2 separate regions of the Homo sapiens genome follow, and region 2 is linked to region 1. The links are contacts of gene promoters, found by promoter capture Hi-C in blood cells and fetal thymus (Javierre and others, 2016). All regions are on one chromosome and are shown on one strand. Each heading gives the region's core, a stretch centred on a gene start or on the middle of the fragment in contact. The rest is flanking DNA. Distances are from core to core; before and after follow the strand shown. Region 1 holds the start of FAM228A (family with sequence similarity 228 member A). Region 2 overlaps ATAD2B (ATPase family AAA domain containing 2B).

Region 1 (4,615 bases), core at 1,519-4,018:
CAGCATTAAAGGGATATTGTTACTTCACCTTGACTTTTTATAGAAGGAGAAAAGTCTCGGTAAATCAGTTCTGTTCCATGAATCAGTCATTACTGCCTTCTCCATAGCCTTTCCTTCGTTCAAGTAAATTTAGAAATTTCTTAAGTTTTCTTTATAACAGGTAGCCTAAATCTATATCATACTTTTAAAATAAAAATCTAGGTGCAAATTTGTTCTTATGGTTAAGGTTAACATGTACACTTCACAAACATTGAGACTTTTGTTTTGTTTTCTGGGACAAGGTCTTGTTCTGTCTCCCAGCTGGAGTGGATACAAGCATGGCTTGCTTCAGCCTCAACCTCCCGGACTCAAGTGATCCTCCCACCTCAGCTTCCTGAGTAGCTGGGACTACAGGTGCCTGCCACCATGCCCAGCTAATTTTTAAACGTTTTGTAGAGACGCGGTCCCATTGTGTTGCCCAGGCTGGTCTTGAACACCTGGCCTCAAGCGATCCTCCTACCTCGGCCTCCCAAAGTGCTGGGATTACATGCATGAGCCACCATGACTGGCCTAGACTTTTTGATTTAAAGAGACTTTTTGGATAGAAATGCTTTTCTCTATTACAGTTATAAATGACTAAAAATACTAGCTATGCCAAAATGGCAACCAGAGGCCGACTGCAAAGCTTCAAAAGGCTTGATGCTCTCCTGGTAGACAAGTCTTCAGTCTCTTAAATGTTTTTTTCATATGTTGACATTGAAATTTCATTTTGTGTAGATGTTGGGATTATGTCTCATTCATTTATTTATTCATCATTCACTTAGTAAGTATTTAAGTGCCTGTTTTTCCCAGGTGCTCTGCCAGGTTCTGGGGATATAAGGATGAGCCAACATAGGCTCTCTGCCCTAAAGTTAGTGGGAGAAACAGTAACAAAAGATTTTAATACTATGAGATTAACTGACTTAGTTGTGGTATGTAGAAAGAGACACAGAGCCTGCAGCAAGAGCCTAGGTGAAGACTCAGTGAAGCACTACCTATTGAAAGGAGAATCTTTCAAATCCTTAACAGTTATTTTCACCATGTAAAAAAGGCGACATTGCCAGGGAACATCAAGTAAAGAGACAAATGCTCAGGTAAGCTTTTAAATCATATGAGATTGAAATAAGTTGATTCAGTAAATCAGGGAAACTTTTATTTTCAAATGAAGTAAGGAAGAAGCTAGGTAGAAATTAAAAATCCTATTTTGTATCACCTTTTGCTTATACTTAATGTAGTTTAAGCCATCAGTATATTATACTTTTCTGTGTATGTCGTCTACTCAACAGGAATTTTCTGTTCGCCTGCTATTTGGGTCAGTCATAGATGGTCCCATGTTATGAGAAAGATGTAAAGATGAGATAGATTCAGCTCCTTTTCTCGAGAAGATTATACCATATAAGGAAGTAATTTGCTGAATGGTCTCTCAGTTAGCCTGACTAGAATCTCTAAATCATGGTCTACACAGCAGTAATGAGGAACTTTGGCCCCTCAAGTGTCAATGAAGGCCAACTGGGGCACCTGGATTCCTATCTCCATCTGGCAGTAATGAGGTGGTAACCTCATTAACCCTGTTAGATTGGTGTTGGAGAAAGCCAGCTAAAACAGAAAGTTTAAATAAGATCCAGAGTCTCATAATATAAACTGAAAATGTTCAGACTTCAATAGAGACCAGCACTGAGATGACAAAGATGTTAGAATAAGCTCACAGACTTTTAAAGTTGCTATGAGAAAACTGCTTCAATGAGCAAATATGGATACACTTGAAGCAAATGAAAAAATAAAAATCCTGAGCAAACAGGAGATACAAAGAAGAACCAGATGAAAATTGTAGAACTGAAAATTACAATAGCCAAAATAAAAAGCTCAGCAGTTAAGCTCAACAGTAGAATAGAGAAGATGGAGGAAAGAATCAGTGAGCTGGAAGATAGAACAATAAAAATTACCCAATCTTAAAAAATGAGAAAATAGACTGGGGGTGGAGGGAAGAAGAGAGGCTTAAGTGGCTGTGGGGGCTATAATAATATTCATGTCATCAGAATCCCAGAAGGACGAGAGAAACAGGCAGGACTAAAAAACATACTTGAAGAAACATTGGCTGAAAACAGAGTAATCCTTGTAGTGGTGTCCTGATACACCTGATACAAGATAATATCCTGTATCTTGACTGTAGCTATGTCAAATCTTGGTTGTGATAATGTACCATACCTTAAACTATTAACAATAATTCTAGATATCATTAAATTTGTAGTCAGAGTTTTCGCATTTTCCTGATTGGCCCAAATGTTTTGAAGTCGGTTTCTTCACATCAGAATCCAAACCAGGTCCACCTGTGGCACCTTCACCCTTCAGTGGGAGTAAGGAGCCGGACGCGTCACTTAAAACCATTCCTCTTACGTTGTCACCCTCAATCTTACAGGTAAATGGCAAATTCTCTTTCGTATTAGTGTACATGCCTCGATAAAAGTCCAGAAGGGCGGCGGGGGCCTCGGCGGTTGAAGGCCCGCGTGCCCTGGCTCCTGCGAGGGGAGGGCGCCCCCGAGACAGACGTGGAGGGAGGGCGAGGGCCAGGCGCTGGGCTTCATCACTGCGTTTCCGTTTTCTGTGAAATCAAATGGCGCCTTTCCCTTTCCCGGGAAGTCGGTGTCACCGCCCGTTTGCTGTGAAATCAAATGGCGCCCTTCCTTTTCCCGGGACTTCGGCGTCACCGTCCAGCTGGCGTCGGGGCAGCACCCCGGGATCTGGCGTGGCGCATGCGCCCCGACGCTCGGGCCCGCGGGCTCCTTTCTCCGTCGCCGCTCCAGGACGCGGCCTCGGGGGAGCCCTACCGGGACGGAGCCGCGGGGCCTGCGACTTCCCCCGGAGCTGGCCTGAGGTGGGGCCCGGGGAGGCCTACGGGCCTGGGGGTCGCGGAGCCCAGGGAGGGCTGTGGCAGGGCCAGGGGGGCGCGCCCCGGAGGAAAGGCCCGCTTTGGCCCGAGGACGACACGGGAGTGGGTAGCCGGGCCTGTTGAAGCGCCTAGGGCGCCAAGGATCCCAGTTTGTTGGGTGACTCGGCTCAGCTTTTAGAAAGGGGCCGAGCGGGATTTGAACACTCCCTGAGCCCAAAGGCCTGGCTCTCAACGGTAACCGTCTTCCTCAGCCTCAGTTTACCTTTTCATCCCTCAGGGATTCTCCTGTCCATGGCTGCCACCAAAACTGCGAGTTATGATGAACATTTCAGGCCAGAAAAGTTAAGAGAATGGCCGGAGCCCGAGTCCGTTTCTTTAATGGAGGTGAGATAACGTGGCGTTTTGAGACGTCATTTTGGCGGGGGGACCCCTCGAGTTTGGGAACTGTTTATCTTAATTTCGCTTCTGTTCTCAGGATTGTGACAGTGCCTGCTTTAAAGCAGGCGTTGAAGGGGAATGTTCGGGCTCAGATTTGGCCGAGAGTGTGGCCAAGAGTGTTTCCAGTCGCCAGCCTGGGGGCTGGCGCACCGACGGGGGCGGGCAGCCGGGCGGGTGAAGGCAGCCACCCCAGCTCCCCGGCAGAAGCCAGGTCTGGGCTTGCCAGTCAATTCTGCATACTTCAGCGTCTGGTAATGATTTTCTCAAAAAGTTTCATTATTTTGTGTCATCCTATGATTTGCCTCGCTGTGAAAAACTCTTGGAAATTTCCTTTCTTTTTCCCCTTTTGCCCTAGTGGCGGTCGGAGCAGTGAGATGCTTAATTTTTCTATGTGTGTGCACAGAAAGCTGTGGATTTCGAAAAGTGCTGCTGCAAATCATGACCTTTTCCTTATATTTCCTGGCAAAATCACAAAGAAGAGCCATCAAAGACAAAAACTGTTTAATTTCTTTAAACAAAGATTATTTGAGAATCTGACTCAAGAATGTACATAACATTTGTTAACAATCTTACTAGGATGTTCTTTAAGAAGGTGACTTCCCAAGATGCTTGTCAATATGTTCTGCTTCTCCAAATAAATAAATAGATTCTAAATTTTTATTGTAGTGTCAGGATACATGTTTAATTGTTTTACATACTTTTTCAGTTGCCATCTTCATTTTAATTAAAAAAAATATTTTAGAGACAGGTTCTTGCTCTGTAGCCCAGGCTGGGGTGCAGTGGCCCAATCATAGCTCTCTGTAACCTCAGACTCCTGGGCTCAAGTAATTCTCCTGCCTGGGCCTTCAGAGCACTAGGATTACAGGCGTGAGCCACCCTGCCTGGCCTGTCTTCTTAAAATAAGTCTGAGAAGGCTTTAAAGCAAGATCCTGTTCCTATTACAAAGAGAGCTTTATTTTAGGAAGACCTGGGCAGCTGTTTGAATATCATTTTAGATCTCATGTGAAGCTATTAAATATGTGGGTAAAAAGAACAACTTTCCTTTTTTGAGATTTCTCTTATTCACAGATTTGGTATTTGAGTTTGGGGTTTAGTTTGTTGTGATGCATTCAGTGTGGCAGAATAGAAAGAAGAATCAGAAATTGAATAACAGTTCTAAGAACCTGTATCATTTTTCATCAGCAATAATTTTTAATGTAACAATTTATCTCTTCCAGATACTGGATTTTCATTGCCTTTTCATTTGTTCACACTTAGTCCTATAAGAATAAA
Region 2 (4,615 bases), core at 1,336-3,835, 370 kb before region 1:
TAGCCAGGTGTGGTGGCACACGCCTGTAGTCCCAGCTACTCAGGAGACTGAGGCAGGAGAATCACTTGAACCCGGGAGGTGGAGGTTGCAGTGAGCCGAGATCACACCACTATACTCCAGCCTGGGAGACAGTGAGACTCCATCTCAAAAAAAAAAAAAAAAAAAGAAAAGAAAAATTTAATATTTAAAATGATTGGGATTATCGGAAACTATCCTAAGAATCAAGTATTATTTTTCTTTAATGAGTAAGCTTACCACTTGCATACATTTTTTAAATAGTGTATTTTATACAGCTTTCAACCTTCTGTGTAAAATAAAAGGTACTGCCAATTCAATAATAAACCAGATGAAAGAAGCTCAAATAATAATTGGAAAAAATGTAGATGTTATGATCACTCACATCAAAAGTAATATTTGCTCCTTCCCTTCCTTAATATTTGCATATCCACCAATCCAGAACAGTTGTACAGTACAACTCCTTCAGGACTCTCAAATTTTGACCTTTTCTGCAAACACGTACCCTCCTATCCTGGATCTTGGAAATCCAAGGATTATTTTTTTCCAAAGTTCTTGTAGAAAATTCATAAGAGAAAAACAAGCATAAATATTGGCAAAAGGAAAGAACCATGCAGAAGCACAAAGGCAACTGAGGCACTTATTTAAAAAAAAAAAAAATTACATGCCACCCAAATCAGGCATGGTTACGTGGAAGACAGTGACCAACTCCTTTTGTCACTTTCCAGTTCCCCACTCTGTGCTGGTAAAACAAGAAAGAGTCAGCAAGGAAACAAAGGTGATCATATGAAAGACTAACCAGCTATAGGTTACTAAGAAACCTCACAAAGCCAATCACTTAATTCAGCCATGCAAGCTACCACATACATGCCCAGGGTATGAGAGAGATAGGAAAACATGCCTTTAAAAAAATGAAATTTTGCCTTTCATTCTAGTACTTCTAGGTTAGATTTTCCAGGAACATGTGTTGAGAACATCTAGCCATTAACAAGTATCAAAGAGGATGAGCAAAGCAACAGAAGGTTAAGTGATAACAATTTGACAGAGTCAGAAGTTAACTACAGGTGTCTTAACTGTATTTGCAAGGGTGAACTACATACAATCATCACCAGCTCTAAGAGTTGAGGTTTGTTTTTTTCTGTTTCTTTTTTTCCTCCAATTGTCTCAAAATTAACATGATATTGAACTCAAATTGAACATGATGTTGTATTGACCCCATTAAAAAATTTAGAAATTTGTCCACATTTCCAAAAAATTTCTTATTTTCATCTCATCTTCTCAAAATTAACAAATTGAACATGATATCCTAGTGATCCAATTAAAAAAAAAATCTCGAAGCTTTTTACTTCCAAAGCCTTTAGGAAAATGTCCTTCTTGATTAAAAAAAAAATTTATATTTGAAAACCTATTGGGGAAAAAAATCAGGCAAGTCTAAGATGAACATGGAAAAATAAAAAGGCTTCGCCTTTCTGATCTATGAGTGTATAATTACATGAATTGAGAATTAACCTAACTACATGAAATACCAACATCTATGAAATATTTTTGTAATTTTTCTCCTAAGTCTTTAGAGGAAAACCATCCTTAATTTCTACAAAAACTAAAAAGCACTATTAAAACAAGCTTTCTTTTAAATTCCTTATTCTATGTTATCTCAGAATATTAAAATAAACTTTTATATTTTCTTTAGATTTATAACCAGTCTGTTCTAATTCCCATTTTGTAATAAAAATTCAAAAAGAACAGAGTTTGAGAATAGCATTTAAAAATTCTTATAGTATAAGCAACAGGAAAAAAAAAAGTTTAATACTATTATGATTTTTTTCTGTAATATAAAAACAGCTCTTCAGCAGTTTGCTGGTAACTTTTAAAGTGTGGAGTAAAATACACTCTGTGAAATCAAATACCAGATAATTCAGAGTAGAAAAATATAGCCTAGTTTCAATGAAGCGGCAACTGGCTTGGGAACAAGTGATGCCATTTGAGAACTAGAAAAATACTCACCTATAGGGTGTCTTGGATTGGTGGATGTGCAAGGTGTAGTAGAAAACAGAAAAACTGTTATAGAAAAAAAAAAAGACAGTAGGCCAAATTACTGAACCAACCGTTTCAAAATACCTCTGACATGACCAGCACTCTTGCACAAGTAAAATGAACAAATACCAGCATATGTGAACTGTTCATTTTGATTCTTTATTACAACATTATACTCCATTTCCTTCTGACCTCCTTCTTGCCACAGACATCATAAGGACCTTAGATAACTAATTTTTTTAAAACTTTCTTTATTAAAAAAAAATCACAAACTACTTCCTCTAAATATTAAAGATATTAAAGGCAAAAATCAGGCCATTGAAGTTAGAAGTATCCATCCAAGGAAGCACTCATGATATAACTCTTGCACTTACAAGAGTTCTAATCATCTCAAAAGCTAAACTTTGAAGTCAGCATTTTAGCCATGAAATTAAAATGTTCCATCCATGAAAATCTAGTGTATTTTTAAACTAAGAATTTATAGTCCCACAACAAGCCATTTCCTTTAGAAATTGAAAACTAGAAAAATTTTAAACCCAAATGTGAATGAAGCAGAAAGCTCAAAGCCAGTATCACTTTTACCTGCCTAAAGAGGGCAATATAGAAAAGAGGGAAACAAATTTGTGTCATCAAGAAACTTCCAGAACTTGTCTCAATCACTTAATAGTATTATAAATATATTAAAATTATAAAGCACAGGTAAAAGAAAAATGTTGGGAGCTAAAACATCCTCAATATTTATAAAAATTAAAAGGCACTAATAAATAAGTTTAATTCTTTGTGCCATGCTATCAGAAATTATTAAAATAAATAACATCTGTGCATTGCTGGTGGCTTTATTCCATTTTTATCCCTTTACTCTATTTATATTCCCTTCATATAAGATTTATTGAGAATCTCTTGTGAAAAGAAGGCACTGTCTGGATTCTAAAGATTCAGGATTCAATAAATAAGGTACAAATTTCTTTACATGCACATAAAATCAGCCTGTTATAAAACACACCTGTACTAGTTTCTGAACTATGGTAGTAACACAAATTAGCATTTTATGAAAATTAAATCACTTAAATTCTTTTTCTAATATTTTCATTCCCTAAGGACTTCAAGAATTTCAGTAAATGTGACACACTCCAGGTCAGGATAATTTAACTTGTCTACAACTCAAAAAAAAAAAAAATTTAAGAAGTGTTGCTATGGAAAAAGTCAGATATCCATGTGAGCAAACACAAAAGCATCCAAAATATACACAGACTGCTACAGAGAAATCCAGAAATCTATAAGCACAAACACAAGAGCAACCGAAGTATACACACAGGTAAGTACATTATTAATACTTTCATGCTATTCAACCAAAAAGAATTTCCCCTGTGAAATTCCAGATAACAATTTCTTTCTGGGGAAAGAAATGCATTTAAATTTTCACCAAGAAAAGACCTTATTCACCTTTTGAAATTATTCCCAACACCACACAGTACATAAACTCCAAAGCTTTTCAGACCATATATAAATGTATTAATTGAATGAAACCTCTCTAATAATTAAAAAGATAAAATATAGCACGCTTATCAGTCCCTTTTTTCTAAATCAACAATAGAAATATACAGGAGGCAAAAATTATATTTGAGGATGTCAGAAAAAGAGAATCATAGTTTTGTTTTGTTTTTTAAGAGTGTTAATACCAAAGGTCTTTTACTACCGATATTAACATCTCCTGCCTTGTTGTAGGACTCAGTAATTACTTGTGAACTTAAGGGGGCAACTATAAATCTTCCAGGCTATACCAAGGGTTCTCATTCTCCTTCCAAAGCTGACTGTGAAATGCTCAGTAACATATGTGTGTACACACACACACACACACACACACACGCGCACGCATTTGTTTCAGTAATAAATGTTGGACTAATGTCTAGTGACCAGCTAAAGTACTATAGCTCAAAGTGAGAGCTATTGAAAACCTAGAATAGTAATATCTGAGATGCATTTTTACAAAGTACAGATTCCTGGGACTCATTCCAAATTGAGTGAATCACAATCTATGGGTGTGGAGCCAGAAAATCAGAAATTTGTGTAAGTACACTCAGGTGATTCTTATGCACACTAAATCTTAAGAAACAATAAGAAAAACATTGCTTTTTAATATAGTTGACACTAACTCTGCCATTTTTCACTCCAATTGATAATATTAATCAATAGCTGAATCCGTCAGAAGGAGAAAAGAAAGTTCTGTCATGTATATTCTTGTGCATGTATGTTTTAAAGGATAGACATAAAATGAAACATGATCCCCACAGTATAAACAATATCAAGTAGGGTCTCCCACCTTACCACGCATATACATACAGCCCTTTAAAAGTGATTTAAGATTCCCTTTAAGACTGCCTTTCATGTTCATGTTACACTACTAAATACCAAACTTAATTTATATTAAGCATTTTAGAGCCTGGGGAAAAGAGAAAACATGCAAGAATAACTTACCACAGACTAAACCCTTATATTACACATCGATTTAGAGAGATACCTCTGAGTATAGGAGGACTAGCTGCCAAGAAAGGTGAAGCAAAAAGGA

The links. Contacts are between HindIII fragments. The CHiCAGO score rates a contact against its expected background, and 5 or more counts as called.
Region 2: a contact is called between a fragment that was not itself captured here and the fragment with the promoter of FAM228A in region 1, in 1 of 17 cell types (total B cells). The highest score is 5.0, in total B cells.

What each region holds. Positions count from the first base shown.
Region 1 is chr2:24,172,285-24,176,899 of GRCh38, forward strand. It overlaps FAM228A (family with sequence similarity 228 member A), which reads left to right and starts at 2,769. Exons shown (of 6, transcript NM_001040710.3): 1 at 2,769-2,890; 2 at 3,183-3,289. The coding sequence starts at 3,197. It overlaps LOC105374328 (a long non-coding RNA gene), which reads right to left and starts at 2,512. Exons shown (of 4, transcript XR_939833.4): 1 at 2,224-2,512. The HindIII fragment of the contact is 4,096 bases long and covers 1,116-4,615 here.
Region 2 is chr2:23,799,425-23,804,039 of GRCh38, forward strand. All of the region lies in intron 18 of ATAD2B (ATPase family AAA domain containing 2B), which reads right to left. Among named protein-coding and RNA genes, the nearest start is that of ATAD2B, 130 kb to the right of the region's middle. The HindIII fragment of the contact is 1,899 bases long and covers 1,637-3,535 here.